4 separate regions of the Homo sapiens genome follow, and all the other regions are linked to region 1. Evidence: promoter capture Hi-C in 16 types of primary human blood cells and fetal thymus (Javierre and others, 2016). All regions are on one chromosome and are shown on one strand. The core of a region is centred on a gene start or on the middle of the fragment in contact, and the rest is flanking DNA. Distances in the headings are between cores, read along the strand shown. Region 1 holds the start of ZNFX1 (zinc finger NFX1-type containing 1). Region 2 holds the start of RNF114 (ring finger protein 114). Region 3 holds the start of SPATA2 (spermatogenesis associated 2). Region 4 overlaps SLC9A8 (solute carrier family 9 member A8).

Region 1 (4,025 bases), core at 437-2,936:
AGGTTCTTTCACTTCAGGCATTTCTCTTAAACCTGTTTCTTCACCAGAAACCTAGTTCCAATATTTGAACTGTGAGAATAAAACATTCAGAACATGTTTTTCTTTTTTTTTTTTTTTTGAGACGGAGTCTGGCTCTGTTGCCCCGACTGTAGGGCAGTGGCGCAATCTCAACTCACTACAACCTCCGCCGCCCGGGTTCGGGCAATTCTCCTGCCTCAGCCTTGTGAGTTGCTGGGATTACAGGCGCGTACCACCACGCCCAGCTAATTTCTGTATTTTTAATAGAGTCAGGGTTTCACCATGTTGGCCAGGCTGGTCTCCAAATCTTGACCTCAGGTGACCCATCTGCCTTGGCCTCCCCAAGTGCTGGGGTTACAGGCGTCAGCCACAGCGCCCGGCCGTCAGAACACTTTTTTAAATACCTAATAAATGCTCGATAGAAAGTGCTTTGTTAAATCCCACGTTTTCCTAGAAAACTAAAGCTTCTCAAAGCACGTGTTTTCTACAGTAGACCCATAGGAGACAAAGACTTACTCGTCAGGAGATCGAAGGTTGTAGATGTCTGCACGTGGCTTCCTTGGAGGTCCAGTGGTGACTCCCTCTTCCAAAATCCATTCTGTACCCGCTGGCTGCTCTAACCTGTGAACCAACAAATAAAGGGCGTTAACCGCCATCTTCCCACGGTCAGAAACGAACAAGGCCGGGCCTTTTGAGGCCGATGTATCAGAACTAACTGGCAAAATATAAGACGTCAGCATTGTCGATCTGATGGGGAAAAAAGTGAAGTCATCATTTACACCAGCCAAGGGCTTCTCAGGCCCGTGCAGAAGGCAGTGGCTTTTCCAGCTCCAGAAACTCATTTCTCCCACGCCCTTAAGGCCTATTTGGGGTCAGAGACGGAGAAGCCACGAGAAGGAGATTAGGGCTGGCCGCAGAGACGACGGCACAAAGAAGGGAAGGGAGGACCAGAGGTCTCCAACGAAGAACATGGAGTTTCCACTCACCACACACAAAACGGGAACTTACGGGCAGGACAATAGCGTATGAAGCCTGACTGCAACTAGGAGAAGTACCACACTCCGGGCACCGCAGACGCGAAAGAACGAATGGCTTCCTGAACCTCCCTTATATAACCAAAGATGGCTTTCGCACCTGCGCACTGGACCCGAAACGCTCTCTTTCCCGCCCGCTCCGCGCGCGTCGCTCTGGGAAATGTAGTCTCGAGCAGCACAGCCCGAGGCGCTCTAGTAGTTGTCCAGGCCGCGTCTAGCCCCGCCCCCTTCCCTCTACACGCCGGGCCACCCGGGCTTGTCCGCTTCCTCGCCATGTCGCGCTTCACACGCACCAAACCGCTCGACGGGTTCCCCTTCCTCTGGGGCCGGCTGAGGCCCGCAAAGGCCTTGGGCGCAGTCATCTCCCGCCCCCCGCGGTCCGCTCCCCTCAGCCGCGCCCGCCTGAGCCCGCCGGCTCCGCCGCCGGGGGGAGCTGAGGTGACGCCCTCCTCGAGGGCGGAGGCGCCGGCCGTGCCTGGGCCAGGCCCTCGTGCTCTCCACCCTGGGCCCCCGCCTCCTCCTTCTCCTCCTCTGGGCCGCCCGCCCGGCTCCGCCCAGGGTCTGCGGGGAACGGAAACCGAAAGTGCGCGGCGCCGGGCGGGGCCACCGACCTGCCTGGGCCGAAGCCCCAGCACTCGCCGGCGGCAGTGAAAGGACGCGCCGGAGCCGGGTGAGTGGCCCCGCAACTGCCCCTGCCCCTGATTCTTCCTTGCCTCGCCGCGAACCCCGGCGCCCGCGCCGACCCGCCACTGCCTCTGCCCGTAAGACCTGTCACCCTCTCAAGCCCCCAACGCACCCGTCACCCGCTCAGAGCCCCTGGCCCCTCAGCGCCCCGTCGCCCCCTCAATCCCCAGACCCCCATCACCCACTCAGAGCCTTGTCACCTCTTTGGCCCCCAGCGGCATCAGCACCCACTCAGAGCGCCTCTCAGCGCCCCGTCTCCCCCTCAGACCCCAGACCTCCATCGCCTACTCAGCGCCCCGTCACCCACTCAGCCCCTGGCCCATCTCAGCGCCCCGTCGCCCCTTCGGCTCCCCTGTACTCTCTTTAGTGTCCCCATCCCCTCAGCTGGCCCGTCGCTCTCCCCAGCACCCCCGACACCGTCACCGCTTCTGCCCTCAGCACTTCGATCTCCTCTGCCCCTACCCCTGTCTGTGCCCTCCCTTCTGCCACTCGCACCCCCCTCATTCCTCCGGCCTCACCTCCTGTCACCTTATCAATCCCCCTCTTCTACAGAGCACCTCGGCACCCCCTTCAGCCTGCTCCCTGCCCCCACCCCGCCGCCTCCGTCCTCAGCAAGCACCCCCTGGTGCTCGCTACCACCCTCTCCCCAAGGCCCCCATAACCCCGCCACCTCACAGCCTTGGCGCTCCCTGACCCCATAACATTTCCATTAGGGACCGTGGGCTCCCTGGGTCAGGGATTCCCCAGGACCCTGGAGACTTCCCCCAAACCCAGCTCTGCCTCCGACCTCAGCCTCCTGCGTCCCACTCTGGTGATGACTAGCCCCTCTCATTCTGACTCCAGGCCAGCTTGATCATCACTGATTTTCTTCTTCGTGCCCTTTAGGCCTTGATTCCCCCCACCAAAAAAAAACACTTCAGTCTGTTTTCGATCCCAGCATTTCCTGTTCATGTCTACTCCTCCCTTCCTTCCCTTGCCTTTTTTTTAACATCTTTTTTTCTTTTCTTCCGTTTCTTTTAAATTTTCTGGAGTTTCTATTTTAGCATTTTTCAACAAGGGGAAGAAGGAATTTTCCCCTCGGAGAATTGAAAATAAACAAACAAACTCTAAATACTGAGCCTGCGCCAGGAGGGCTGGGTTTGATAAGATGAGGGAGGGGACTCACCAGAGATATTCCCAGGGGGAAGAAAAGAGACTCCTTTTTCAGATGAGGAAAAAAGCTGCCCCTCATATAATGCCAAATGTAGTCACAGTTTCCAATTATGAATATTTTAGAACTCAGTGAAGACAGTCTCAAAAATCCCTTTGCTGAGGACTCTGAGTCACCCACTCTTTCCTTAGCCCCAGCCCACACCATGTGTATGAGTTGGGTTGAGAAGCTCCCTTAAAGGGGCTTCCTCTTCCTCTTACAGGACCAGTGTCAAAAATCACCAAGGTAGAAGAATGAGGAGGAAGAAAGAATATCAGATTTCTAGCTGGTCCTGAGGAAACAGCACCTCGTAGTTGCCAAACCTCCTGGTTATTGAAACATGTAATTTCTTTCTCTTGATTCAGTAGAGCAGAGAGCTTAATCATTTGGCTCCATTCCAAAGAGTAGGCTAAGGGGATAACTGCTCACTAATTATTTATAAACTGTAGGGTACTGCAAGCTATTGGGTACTATATAAGTGGCAGATATGTAAATGCCAGATAAGGTGGTGAGCACATGGTTTTGGATTAACAAAAATGTACTCCTTTTTGTCCTGGCAACAATATTGTCTGCTTCTTAGGAAAGGAAAATGAAACCTAGCAACTGATTAAGTAACTTGGCTAAAGGCATAAACCAAACAGCAGTTTTGAATGGGAATTGATGACATTCCCTCTACCCCAAGAAAGTGCCAGGGTAAAAGAAAGGGGAATTCTATCTCTTGAAATCAGCTAAATTGTGAATTTAATATTTTATATCATAATTGGGCATTTGCAGAGTCGAGCACTTGTGCTCTAGATTAAAATCTGTATTTAACCCTTAGTTAACAAATCATTAAAATGTTAACAAAGGCAGAAGGACTGGCTTGATGGTGTTTGGGTTTTTGCTGCTAGATGCTATGTTTCGAGGACACTGATAACTCAACATGTGCAGTTTTCCAGATAACAGAAAGTAACGTGAAGGAATTCAGGTGACTCAGACATGGAGGAGAGAAGACCTCATCTGGATGCCAGGCCCAGGAATTCCCATACCAACCACAGAGGTAAGCAAGGTTTCCTACCTAATGAGAAGGAAATTCTAGTAATAAAAGAAGGAAATAGGGC
Region 2 (4,025 bases), core at 397-2,896, 660 kb before region 1:
ACTCACCCCACGCACAGAGGTGTGATCCCTGAAATACCCTCCCACTTGCAGAATGAATTTTTACAATAGTTTGACCAGTCATTGGTACTTATTTATAATCAATTCACTGGACTGTAAACTCTGAAGGCAGAGTCTACCCCAAAATCTGGCACACAGAGGCCATTCCAGTCAGTTCAGGGGCAATAAAGATATGGCCACTCCGTCATGAGCTGTTAAGTTTTGCTCTGTGCAAGCAAGGAGAAGGAAGTTAAGTCCCAGAAAGGAAGTGGGGGAAGTAATTTAGATGGGGATGGTATTTGGTGAGGTAACTTAACCTGGGACTTGAAGCCTGAAAAGGGAGGGGTGGGGGGAAGAGTTCCAGGCTAACCGAATTGCAAAGATGAATAGCCTAAAGCAACATGATGAAGCAAAAAGCAGCCAGCTAGGTGCCAAGCACTGTTCTCTGGACTACTGAAATGGTCACCTGCAGTACATCTGGGAAGAGCTAGGCCACGGTGACCCTTCCCTAAGAGAGCCTCGGACCCTCAGTGTATTCACCTGTAAAATGGCTGCCAACCCTCCCCCGCTGCAGGGTGGCTATAGAATAATGCCCATGGAGTGCAATGGCTACTGTGCCCGCTGCCAAGACCAATGCCAAGGTGATCCCACGATAAGCACTGAGAGGGGCCAGAGGAAAAGCCAATTCTGAGGCAAGAAGCAGGTGGCCACGTTGTCTACAATTCTTTCAACTCAGATGTGTTTGTGCGTCTGATGGAACAAGGCTTAGATTCAAATCGACCAACCTGACCAACCTCGAAAGCCCCGGCCACAGCCCAGGACCTGGACTGGACATTTATACACATATCTGCTTTAATCATTATAACCACTCTATTCACAATATTCAGGTCATGAAGGCTTAATTGAAAACTGAAAGAAACAAACCTCCTACACAGGAAGTAGAATGCTAACAATCCCATCTGCCAACTCCCACCCCCCTTTCACAGCTAAGGGCAAACTGGCCAGATCCCCATAAAGACTTCCCTTTTGTTGTTTTAGTCTAGTTCAGCGTTTCTCCCGACTTTAGTGCACAGTAGAATAACTCGCCACAGCTAGACACGACGCCAAATGTCCTATGCTTTAAGAGCGACGTGGACTAGAAAGGAAACGTCGGCTCTCCAAGGGCGGACTTCGGAGCCTAAAGTCCCCGCAGGGCACGAGTCCACTATCACGTGTGGGAAGGAGACTGACAGGCCGCCTGGAACATCGCAGGCGCTCAACAGACAGCAGCTGCCCCGCTAAGACGGGCGGAGGAACGGGATACTTAGGAGTGAGCGGGGCGGGACAGAAGAGCGCCCCGGCAGCTTTCACGGCCCTTAGGAGCCCCGGGGGACACCCCCGGGAGGCCCCTCTGGGTGGGTCCTCTGGCTCCCGCCCTGAGACCCATCTCGCTCCTCGGCTCCATTCCCTTCCCAGTTAAGCGCCCCCCGACCAGGCCCGGGCTCGCCGCTTACACGTGTCCGCAGGGCACCTGTACCGGCTTCTCGTACACCTCTAAGCACACGGGACACGTGAAGCGTCCTAGGGGGTCAGCCTCCGCCGCCGGCCCCGCCAGCTGCGCAGCACCCCCGCAGTCCCGCTGTTGCGCCGCCATCTTGCTGCCGCTCTGCGCCGCGCAACGGCGGCCGATGAGGAGGAGGCCGAGGGGGCGGGGCTCGCGGGGCGGTGAGCGGTTGGGGGCGGGGCTAGCGGGTGGGCCGCCCCTCGGGGCCCCTCTGACGCAAGCGAGCTAGAGGCCGAGGGAAATCTGGAAAACGTGGAAGCCAAATCCAAAGGCTGCCAGAATTGGGACGGGCTCTGCGCGTGGGCCGCTGTTTTCCAAATTTATCGTTAGTTCGGCACCACTTGCACTATCACTATTTATCTTCGAATCAAGTTGCTTTTTCCTTAAATTTATTTATTTATTTATTTAATCTATTTTGGGACAAGGTCTTGCTTTGTCGCCCAGGCTGGTGTTCAGTGGCGCGCGCGATCATGGCTCCCTGCAGCCTCGACCACCGGGGTTCAAGCGATCCTCCCACCTCAGCCTCCTGCGTAGCTGGACCACAGGCAGTCACCACCATGCCGGACTAATTTATTTATTTTTGTATTTTTTGTAGAGACGGGGAAAGGAGGGGGGGAAGGAGTGGTGCAGAGAGCGGGCGGGTCTCACTGTGTTGCCGAGGCTGGCCTCGAACTCTTGGACGCAAGCAATCCGCCTGCCTCGGCAACCCGAAGTGCTGGGATTACAGCGGTGAGCCACAGTACCCAGCCATTTCTTAAATTTAAGCAAATTCTAATAACAGATCTAATTCCTGAGCTGCAAGAAGAAAATCAATATCATTTATTTATACAAAGGAGCTGGGCAAGGTGGCTTACTTCTGTAATCTCAGCACTTTGGGAGGCCGAGGTGGGCGGATCGCTTGAGCCTAGGAGTACTAGAGCAGCCTGGCCAACATGGTGAAACCCCGTCTCTACTAACAATACTAAAATTAGCCAGGCGTGGTTGCCCATGCCTGTAGCCTCAGCTACTCAGGACGCTGAGGCAGGAAAAGCCTTTGACCTGGGAGGCGAAGGTTGCCGTGGGCCAAGATGGCTCACTCACTCCAACAGTCACTAAACTCCAGCCTGGGCAACAAGAACGAAACTCCGTCTGAAAAAAAAAAAAAAAAACAAAAACACAACCTGGCTAACACGGTGAAACCCTGTCTCTACTAAAAATACAAAAAATTAGCCGGGCGTGGTGGCGGGCGCCTGTAGTCCCAGCTACTCGGGAGGCTGAGGCAGGAGAATGGCTTGAACCTGGGAGGCGGAGCTTGCAGTGAGCCAAGATCTTGCCACTGCACTCCAGTCTGGGCGACAGCGCGAGACTCCCTCTCAAAAAACAACAACAACAACAACAAAACAAAACAAAAAAACCCCAACAACAAAGTACATTCATTTCATATTGTGCAATCATCACCATCAGCTATCTCTAAAATTCTGGTCTTCTTGCTAAACTGAAACTGAAATTCTGTCCCCATTAAACAATAACTTCCTCTTCCCTCCTCCCATCCCCATACCCCCAGGCCCTGGCAATTTTCTGTCTATGATTTTGAAGCACTTATAGCTATAAAATTTCCCCTGAGCACTGCTTTCACTGTGTCCAGTAAATTTTGGCATGCTGTGTTTTTGTTTTCATTTGTTTCTCAATATTTTCTCTATTTATTTAATTAATTTATTTATTTTGAGATGGAGTCTCACTCTGTCGCCCAGGCTGGAGTGCATTGGTGCAATCTCTGCTCGCTGCAGCCTCCCTCTCCTGGATTCAAGCAATTCCCTTGCCTCAGCCTCCCAAGTAGCTGGGATTACAGGTGCCTGCCACCACGCCTGGCTAATTTTTGTATTTTTAGTAGAGACAGGGTTTCACAATGTTGGCCAGGCTGGTCTCAAACGCCTGACCTCAAGTGATCCGCCAACCTCGGCCTCCCAAAATGCTGGGATTACAGGTGTGAGCCACCCAGCCTGGCCTGTTTCTGAGTATTTTCTAATTTCCCTTGTGATTTCTTCTTTGATCCATTGGTTCTTTTAAGAGTGTGTAAATTTCCACAAATTTGTGAATTTTCCAGTTTTCCTTTGATATTGATTTCTTTTTTTTTTTAACCCCCCCATATTGATTTCTAGCCTTATCCAATTGTGCTTGGAGAAGATATTTGGTATGATCTCTTTTATTTCTTCTTTCTTTCCTTCTTATCTTTCTCTCTTTCTCCTTTTCTTCTGTCTCTTTTTGTAGAGATGAAGTCTGGCTGTGTTGCCCAGGCTGGTTGCAAACTCCTGGGCACGAGCAATCCTCCTGCCTCAGCCTCCCAAAGTGCTGGGATTACAGGCCTAAGCCACCACAGCTGGCTGATGTCTACCTTTTAAAATCTCTTGAGGCTTAATCTGTGGCCTAACATATGGTCCATCCTGGAGGATATCCCATGTGTGCCTGAGAAGAATGTGGATGCTGTTGTTGCTGGGGAGTGTCTGTA
Region 3 (4,025 bases), core at 749-3,248, 640 kb before region 1:
CCGTCGGCCGCGGGCATCGACCGCTTCCCGGAGCCAGCGCGCAGCCGTGGTCCACCCTCTCTTCGGGCCCGCCTCATGGTGACATCATTTCCGGGCCGAGTGTTTCCGGGTCGCTGCTGGCCCCCGGGTACTGGTCTCAGTACCCCTGCAGCCGGCCGGAGAGGCTAGAGCCCGACGGGGCCCGGCTCCGGCGGCAGCCGCGCCTCTCGCTTGCTTCCCTCGGCCGGGCCGTCCTCGGCGGCAGTGTCAGGGTGAGTGACGGGCGGCCGCGGGCGGAAACTGCCTTCGGGGCTTCCCCAGGCGGAGGGGGCGCCAGACAGCGGCAGGGCTCGGCTGGCCCGGGAGCGGGGTACCCTCACGGCAGGCAGGACTACAGGTGGGCCCGCTGTTTCGGCGCTCCCGGGACCCCCAGCCTATCCTCAGGACCCCCATTCTCCCGGGAGCTGCCTCGCAGGCTCCTGGGACCCGCCGAGGGTGGCTCAGGGCCGCCCAAGAGGAACACCCCTCTTCGGCGACTGGCCAAACAGAAGGACACCCCGATTTCGCCACGAGGCAGTTACCGCGCAGGGGTTCCCAGTTCAGGCTCTGGCGGCACACCTGGGTTTGTACTCACTGTGTGACCTTGGATAAGTCACTTCATCTTAAGAGCCTCAGTTGCCTATTTAAGTGATTGAACCTGGTTGCTAGGGCTGGAGTGGAGATGGAATGAGATCATGCAGGGCCTCTGGCATACAGCAGGCGTCCAATAAGTGATAGTTCCTGTTACTTCATTCAATTCACGAAGCCGTAGGGGGGGCCAGAATTTGAGACTGGGCTGTTTTTCACAACTGACGTGGCCCCCCGAGGCTGTAGGAATGACCGAGCTGGGACTTAGCAGCCGCCAGCTTCTGTCCCCTGCAGGGAGGGAAACAGCTTCCTTCAGAGCTTCTCCGAGAGAGGCAGCTGCCACTAGGGAAGCTTCTTTCAGCACCGCTGAGGTTATTTTCAGAGGTTTGGAAGGACTCTGTGTGAATTTCTTTGGAATCTAGTAGGAGTGTGGGGACCTTCTGGTGTTTCACAGCCAGTGGAAGGTGCCTTGGATGTTTCTCGGAGCCTCTTGCTTGGAACGAGTGCATTGGTGTGGGTGGGGAGGTGGAGGGGGTTGAACTGACTTCCCCGTCTCCTGTTTGGAGGCTGATGGAGCTAGACCAGGGATGTGTAAACCTGTGGACAGGGGCAGTGCACAGACCAAAATAGGTCTGCCTGTGCAGAGAGGGGGCGCCTTCAAATGCTGCTTGGGGAACATTTCTGCTTGAATGGGCCAGCTGAGGTAAAGCCAAGCTAATGCTTAGCTACTCGGAATCACTTCACTTCCATGCAGTGGGACTCTAAACAGATACAGCTTTCCTCTTAGATGTTCAAAAAATAACTAAAGAAGCCACTGGCTCCCTGACTGTGCAATATCTCTTTTTCCATTGACTTGCTTTTCAAGAAGGTACCTAGATTGTGGGTGCAGGAGGTGCTGACTGGAGCCGTTGACTCTGGGCACCTGCCTGTCTCTGTGTTCAGGATATTCACAGTGCTGTTTTTTTGTTTTTTGGGTTTTTTTTTTTTTTTTTTTCCACCAGACTGGCACGGCTTGGCGTTCCAATCCTTGGGTTGCTTGGAGAAATTAGCAGCTTCTGTCGCTGGGCTGTCTCGGTCTCCTGTAACCACGATGTTTTTGCAGAGAGCGTATTTTGTTGTTCTTGCAGAGTGCTGGGAATGAATTGCTGGCTCTGTGCTCAGAAAAAACACCAGCTATGACCAGCTACAAGGCATCTTGTATTCTCAGAAAATGTTTTCAGCAGGGATGATGTCAGCTGCTTCATCACTGGCCGATGTCTCTGACCAGCCTCTTTCCTTGGCCCTTGAGCTTACATCATATAGAGATTAGCTCTCCTAGCCCCATTCGGTGTGGGAAGATGGGAATTTTGCTACTACAGGAATTTTTGTAACTCAACTCTGCTCGCGCCGCCATAAGGCATTCTAACTTAGCCAAACACTTTCGAGTAGAGCTGTCCAGCAGATGCAGCAGGATGGCTTTGCAAGAGTCGGAGTTTTGGCGTTAGACCTAGGTTCAGAGCTCAGATCCACTTCTTCCTAGCCTTACGACTTAGGGTAAGTGAGTTGGCCTCTCCGAGCCTCAGTTTCCTCTTTAACCTTGGATCTATCCTGTGGATTTCATTGGTTTTCACAGAGCAGTTAGCAGAGGGATGCCACACAGTAATCCCTTGGTAAATGGTACTGATGTAACAATAAATGAGTGAGGTAAATTGGAGAAAGCCCAGGCATCAAGGGCCTCCCAGCAAGAGTTCAGATTCCAGCTCTGACCCTTTCAAACTCTGTTGGGCAGGTTGTTTTAATGGGAAGAGCCTGTTTTCCTTATAGAGTTGTGAGGATTAAATGGGATGATGTAGGTAAAGTGGGAAGCCCAATGCTTAGCACATAGTAGAACCTCAGTAATTGTTAGTCTCTTTCTTTCCTTTCCTTATTGACTGATTGAGACAAGGTCTTGCTCTGTCACCCAGGCCGGAGTGCAGTGGTGCCATCATAGCTCACTGCAGCCTCAAACTCCTGGGCTCAGTGGATCCCCCCACCTCAGACTCCCAAGTAGCTAAGACTACAGGTGGGTGTCACCACACCCACCTAATTTTTTTTTTTTTTTTTTTTGTAGAGACGGAGTCTAACTATGTTGTCCAGGCTTGTCTTGCCCTTAATTATCTTTTAGCTTTTACTTTCTTCCGCCTTTTCCCTCACCTACCCAGGTTGGTTTGAGATTTGTTTTAGATAGGCTTCCTGTCCTTATTGTGAGTATTTTGAACATCAGCTGGGCTGTTTGGATCCCTTTCCTTTATTTATTGTTTTTCAGCAACAAACAAGGGTGTGGACTGTGGTGCGATTATAGAGCAGCAGACGCTGAGCCGAGCTTGAGACTGGCTGACTTTGTAAAAAATCAGTCTCTTTGAGTTCAAGGCTGACTTCCTTGGAGAAAAATTACAGCAGTATTCGGAAGCTTAATGTCTCTGTGTTTGAATGGTTCTCAGACTACCAAAAAACAGACCCTGGGGCCAGAGGCGTGATGGCAGCTTCTCTTAGATAAGTCAAGAATGGTAAATGCATGTGTGACTATCCTCTCCAGTGGTGCAATACATTTATTTATGTAGAGATGGAGTTTTTGCTCTGTTGCCCAGGCTGGAGTGCAATGGCACGATCTCAGCTCACTGCAACCTCTCCCTCCTGGGTTCACGCCATTCTCCTGCCTCAGCCTCCTGAGTAGCTGGGATTACAGGTGTTCGTCCAGCTAATTTTTGTATTTTTAGTAGAGGCGGGGTTTCGCTATGTTGGCCAGGCTAGTCTCAAACTCCCAATCTCAGGCGATCCACCCACCTTGGCCTCCCAGAGTTGTAGGATTACAGGCGTGAGCCACCGCGCCTGGCCTGCATTTTTATTTTTTAAGAGAATATACATTTTAAATTGTTTATTTTTTTATGGACAGAACAGTATGAAGTTAGAGCACATACCTACTTTGATACTAGGTGGTATGCTCTTCCAGCTAGAGCTGCAGGCAGGATGTGTCTCCTTTATTGCTGTCCTCTACCTGTCCCACCCATCCCCATTCCCCGACTGGGTCCAGCTCAGGCAGAGGGTGGGGGCTGCAGAAATGCTTGCTGGACATGGGAATCGTGGGGTGGTGAGAGGAATACAGGTTCCAAGTCAGAAGGCCAGGCTTGGATTATCGGGTCCATCATCTGCTAACCTTGAGCTACTTGTCGTACCTCATGCCATCTTTCTGAGCCCGTTTCTTTGCTCTCCAGCTGATCTCCCAGGATTCTTGGGAGGTACCAATGAGAAACTAAAGTGATGGCATCGTGAATGCAGACATCCTTTGCAGCATCCATTTCTCTTTTTCTCTTTTCTTTTTCTTTTTCTTTTTTTTTTTTTAGAGACGGAGTCTCGCTCTGTTGCCCAGGCTGGAGTGCAATGGGGCGATCTCGGCTCACTGC
Region 4 (4,025 bases), core at 1,026-3,525, 540 kb before region 1:
CCACTTCAATGAACTTGTGTGTGCATTCACACCTGTTATTACACGGGTTCATTCACTGCAACTAGATCTCAACAGTTAATTGGCACAGGAAACAAAACAGAAATGTAAGTGGGGTAGAGCACAATGCTCTCTGAAGACTTTAGACCTGACTCTGGCATTAAGTGAGCCATTTCTTCCTCCTAAACTGTAAAGTCAGAGTCCCTTCTGTCTATAAAATTGAGTGATTCTATGAAGTGTCATTACTTACCTTAGTTGAGTTGGATGTCAGCCTAGCCTAGCAGTAGAGGTCAATGTTCCCCAAGGGTAGTTCTACCAGAAGCAAAAGGCTAAGAAAGGGCCTTTGAGCTGTACAGAGCTGTATGGCCTTTGGGCTTCTACATGACCTTTAGGAGGTCACTACCCTTCTTGAGCCCCAGTGTCCTCATCTGTAAAATGGGATCATAGCACCCTTAGGGCAGGTTGCAGTGAGGATCAAATGAGATCAGGGATGTGATGCATCTCTTGTGGTTCCTGGCACTAAAGAGGCACTCAAAAAATGGTAGTTATTGTTACTGCTTTTATTATGGAATCACCAATACACACTTACCTAAAGAAACAACAGCAACACTCTCTGGCAAGAAATGTAATCTGTATCGGATCAGTAAATGCACCAATATGATGCAGATAGCTGTGGAAAAAAAAATAATACAATGTTTTAAAAAAAACACTCAATTCTGAATGATAAACACCAAGTTCAAGTCAGTGGTTATTTCTGGGGGGGTCCTCACAGAAATGGACAATTGGAATAACACAGTGAACTTCAGCGGTGTTTTTCGTGTCTCATTTCTTAAACTGGAGGTACATTTACAATGTTTATTATATTTTCTCTATACTTCTTTGTCTGCCTGAACTAGTTTGTTTCCCAGTAGTTATTGGAAGAGGAACAGAAATCTAACTTTTTTGAGACAGGGTCTCACTGTGTCATCCAGGCTAGAGTGCAGTGGTATGATCTAGGGTCACTGCAGTCTCAACTTCCCAGGCTCAGGTGATTCTCCCATCTCAGCCTCCCAAGTAGCTGGGACTAGAGACACATGACACCACACCCAACTAATTTTTTTGTATTTTTAGTAGAGATGGGGTTTCGCCACATTGCACAGGCTGGTCTCCAACTCTTGGGCTCAAGCAATCCACTCACCTTGGCCTCCCAAAGTGCTGGGATTACAGGCGTGAGCCACGGTGATCAGCCAGAAACCTATTTTTTTATATAAGCTGTTAAACCTTATAAAATTATTTAAAATTATTCAAATTTTTCTGATTCTGAGAAATGGTCTTCAACTTTTTGGAAGTGATTATCAACTGGAACACTATATGGTGAAGAGGAAGTCAATGAAATCAATCACTTTTACATAAATGTAACTGCAACAGATTGCATTGACACAAATTATTTTGCCATCATGTGACTGGCTCTTAACATAGAGGGAAGTAAGGGTTTTACAAACAGGAAAAAGTAAATGGTTTGGTGACAAGAACATCAGAGATCTGAATATGGAACACTCCTGCTCCCCAGCTGGGTGCAGCTGTGTCCTGCCATTCCCATCGGCTGAGGACTTCCCATGAGCCATGAACTAGGCTGAACACCCCAAATACTCTCTCATTTAATCCTCCAACTTCCCTCGGAATTAGCTGTCATTACCACTATCTTCTCTGATTACAAATCAGAAAACTGAGGCTTCTAGACATCACAGCCCCTGTCACACCACTGGTAGGTGCTGCAGTATTGAGTCAGATTCCAAATCTGTGCTCTTAACCACAGCATACCCCACCACCTCCCACTTGGCTGGATGCCTTCATTCCTCAATCTCCAAAACAGAATAATGTCTAACTTTCCTCACAGAGGTGTTGTTATGAAAGAAAATAAGAAGATGTAAAATAAAACGATTTGAAAGGGATATTTCTGCCCCCACCAACCCCCCGGCAAAAAAAATGGGTACTTCACAAAAATTATTCCTGAATGTAATTTCCTAATCCAAATGTTAGCGTGCATGTCTTTCTTTTACTGGGCACCTAGATGGTATACCAGCTCATCAACCACAGTATTAACAGGACTAACATTAATTTTGTTATTTTTTTCAAGGAAATGTTTAAACAATCCACATGCCTGTTAACTGGTCACCCTCAGAGGCTGCACTGACAAATTAGGTTTCTTTAATCCCACCAAAAAACACCAGGTGGCCAGAGTGTTGTAAATGTAGACATTTTGTCCTCTTTTCATTCTGTGCTTTAAACTATCAATCTGTGGTGTTATTTTTATATAAATATTTAACCTAGTTAGAAATCCTACATTAAATACTAATGGCAAGAAAAAAGTTCCAGTGCATAAACATAACATGTGACTAATGAACATGCCCAATGTCTAGACAAAACAAAAAACGGCAAATAAGCACATAAGTGGACAGAAAATAGACCAAGAGAGTTGAACCAGTTTCTGCTCTTCCTTTGTACCAAGCTAGATTTTTAAAAATTTAAGTTATTCTCATAAATAGATCAAACAACTCTTTGCGGCTTTAAGAGCAAAAGGGGAAACTATTAACAGAAAGAGTTAATATAAGGCTCATCAATGCCAGGTAACAGCCTTCAGCCATTAAAAAGAATAAAGTCAGAAAAGACAATCCATAGAAGGGGAGAAAATATTTGCAAATCATATATCTGATAAAGGTGTACTATCCACAATATATAAAGAACTCTTAAACTCAACAGCCAAGAGACAAACACCACAGCTTTTAAACGGGCATAGGACATGAATAGACAAAAGATGTTCAACATCAATAGTCACAAGGGAAACTAAAATCAAAATACAATGATTCACTGGAAGGACATGTAAGATTTTTTAAAAAATACAGTGAGGGCCTGGTGCGGTGGCTCACACCTGGAATCCCAGCACTTTGGGAGGCTGAGGCAAGCAGATCACCTGAGGTCGGAGTTCAAGACCAGCCTGGCCAACATGGTGAAACGCCGTCTCTACTAAAAATACAAAAATTAGCAGGGTGTGGTGGTGCGCACCTGAATCCCAGCTATATGGGAGGCTGAGACAGGAGAATCACTTGAACCCAGGAGGTAGAGGTTGCAGTGAGCCAAGATCATGCCACTGCACTCTAGCCTGGGAGACAGAGCAAGATTCCATCTCAAAAAAAACAAAACAAAACAAAAATACAATTTCATATCCACTAGGATAGCTATAATTTTTTTTTTCCCCGAGACAGAGTCTCACTCTGTCACCCAGGCTGGAGTGCAGTGGTGCAATCTCAGCTCACTGAAACCTCCACCTCCCAGGTTCAAATGATTCTAGTGCCTCAGCCTCCCGAATAGCTGGGATTATAGGTGTATGCCACCACGCCCACACCCAGCTAATTTTTTTGTATTTTTAGGAGAGACAGGGTTTCGCCATATTGCCAGGCTGGTCTCGAACTCCTGGCCTCAAGTGATCTTCCCGCCTCAGCCTCCCAAAGTGCTGAGATTGCAGGTATGAGCCACCACGCCCAGTCTATCATTTTTTTAAAACCAGAAAACAAGTGTTCGCAAGAACATGGAGAAACCGGAACCCTTGTAAAATGGTGCAGCCCCTGTGGAAAACATTTGTCAGTTTCTGAGAAAGTTAAACATACAGTAACCGTTTGACTCGGCAATTCCACTTGCAGGTATATATCCAAAAGAAATAAAAACATTTATCCACACAAAAGCCTATACACAAATGTTCACAGCAGCAGTATTCACAACAGCCAAAAGGTAGAAACAATCCAAATGTTCACTGATGAATGAATAAACATCATGTGGCATATCCATACAGTGGAATATTACTCAGCCATAAAAAGGAATGCAATTCTAACATATGCTATAACATGAATCTTGAGAACATTATGCTAAGTAATAGAAACCAGACACAAAAGGCCACGTATTATATGGTTTCATTTATATGAAATATTCTAAATAGGCAAATTCCTAGAGACAGAAAGCAGAATAGTGGTTGCCAAGGACTAGAAAAGGGAGGG

What was found. Contacts are between HindIII fragments. The CHiCAGO score rates a contact against its expected background, and 5 or more counts as called.
Region 2: a contact is called between the fragment with the promoter of RNF114 here and the fragment with the promoter of ZNFX1 in region 1, in 6 of 17 cell types (naive CD8 T cells, total CD8 T cells, naive CD4 T cells and 3 more). The highest score is 8.1, in naive CD8 T cells.
Region 3: a contact is called between a fragment that was not itself captured here and the fragment with the promoter of ZNFX1 in region 1, in 8 of 17 cell types (naive B cells, naive CD8 T cells, activated CD4 T cells and 5 more). The highest score is 8.4, in naive B cells.
Region 4: a fragment that was not itself captured here is called in contact with the fragment with the promoter of ZNFX1 in region 1 in 1 of 17 cell types (activated CD4 T cells); the score reaches 5.8 in activated CD4 T cells.

What each region holds. Positions count from the first base shown.
Region 1 is chr20:49,275,718-49,279,742 of GRCh38, reverse strand. ZNFX1 (zinc finger NFX1-type containing 1) reads left to right here and starts at 1,686. Exons shown (of 14, transcript NM_021035.3): 1 at 1,686-1,722; 2 at 3,856-3,964. The coding sequence starts at 3,904. ZFAS1 (ZNFX1 antisense RNA 1) reads right to left here and starts at 1,565. Exons shown (of 4, transcript NR_036658.2): 1 at 1,027-1,565; 2 at 535-639. SNORD12C (small nucleolar RNA, C/D box 12C) reads right to left here and starts at 798; the gene lies at 720-798. RefSeq lists enhancers at 982-1,181, 1,057-1,351, 1,109-1,609, 1,610-2,110, 2,452-2,511 and silencers at 1,272-1,631, 1,682-1,911. The HindIII fragment of the contact is 6,236 bases long and covers 485-4,025 here.
Region 2 is chr20:49,934,018-49,938,042 of GRCh38, reverse strand. It overlaps RNF114 (ring finger protein 114), which reads right to left and starts at 1,646. Exons shown (of 6, transcript NM_018683.4): 1 at 1,491-1,646. The coding sequence starts at 1,630. RefSeq lists silencers at 277-571, 857-1,151, 1,610-1,799, 2,366-2,445, 3,884-4,025 and an enhancer at 1,392-1,997. The HindIII fragment of the contact is 14,536 bases long and covers 1-4,025 here.
Region 3 is chr20:49,911,606-49,915,630 of GRCh38, reverse strand. It overlaps SPATA2 (spermatogenesis associated 2), which reads left to right and starts at 102. Exons shown (of 3, transcript NM_006038.4): 1 at 102-251. RefSeq lists enhancers at 61-120, 915-1,084 and a silencer at 151-400. The HindIII fragment of the contact is 2,077 bases long and covers 960-3,036 here.
Region 4 is chr20:49,819,703-49,823,727 of GRCh38, reverse strand. It overlaps SLC9A8 (solute carrier family 9 member A8), which reads right to left. Exons shown (of 16, transcript NM_015266.3): 3 at 587-667. Among named protein-coding and RNA genes, the nearest start is that of SLC9A8, 8.9 kb to the right of the region's middle. The HindIII fragment of the contact is 4,761 bases long and covers 1-4,025 here.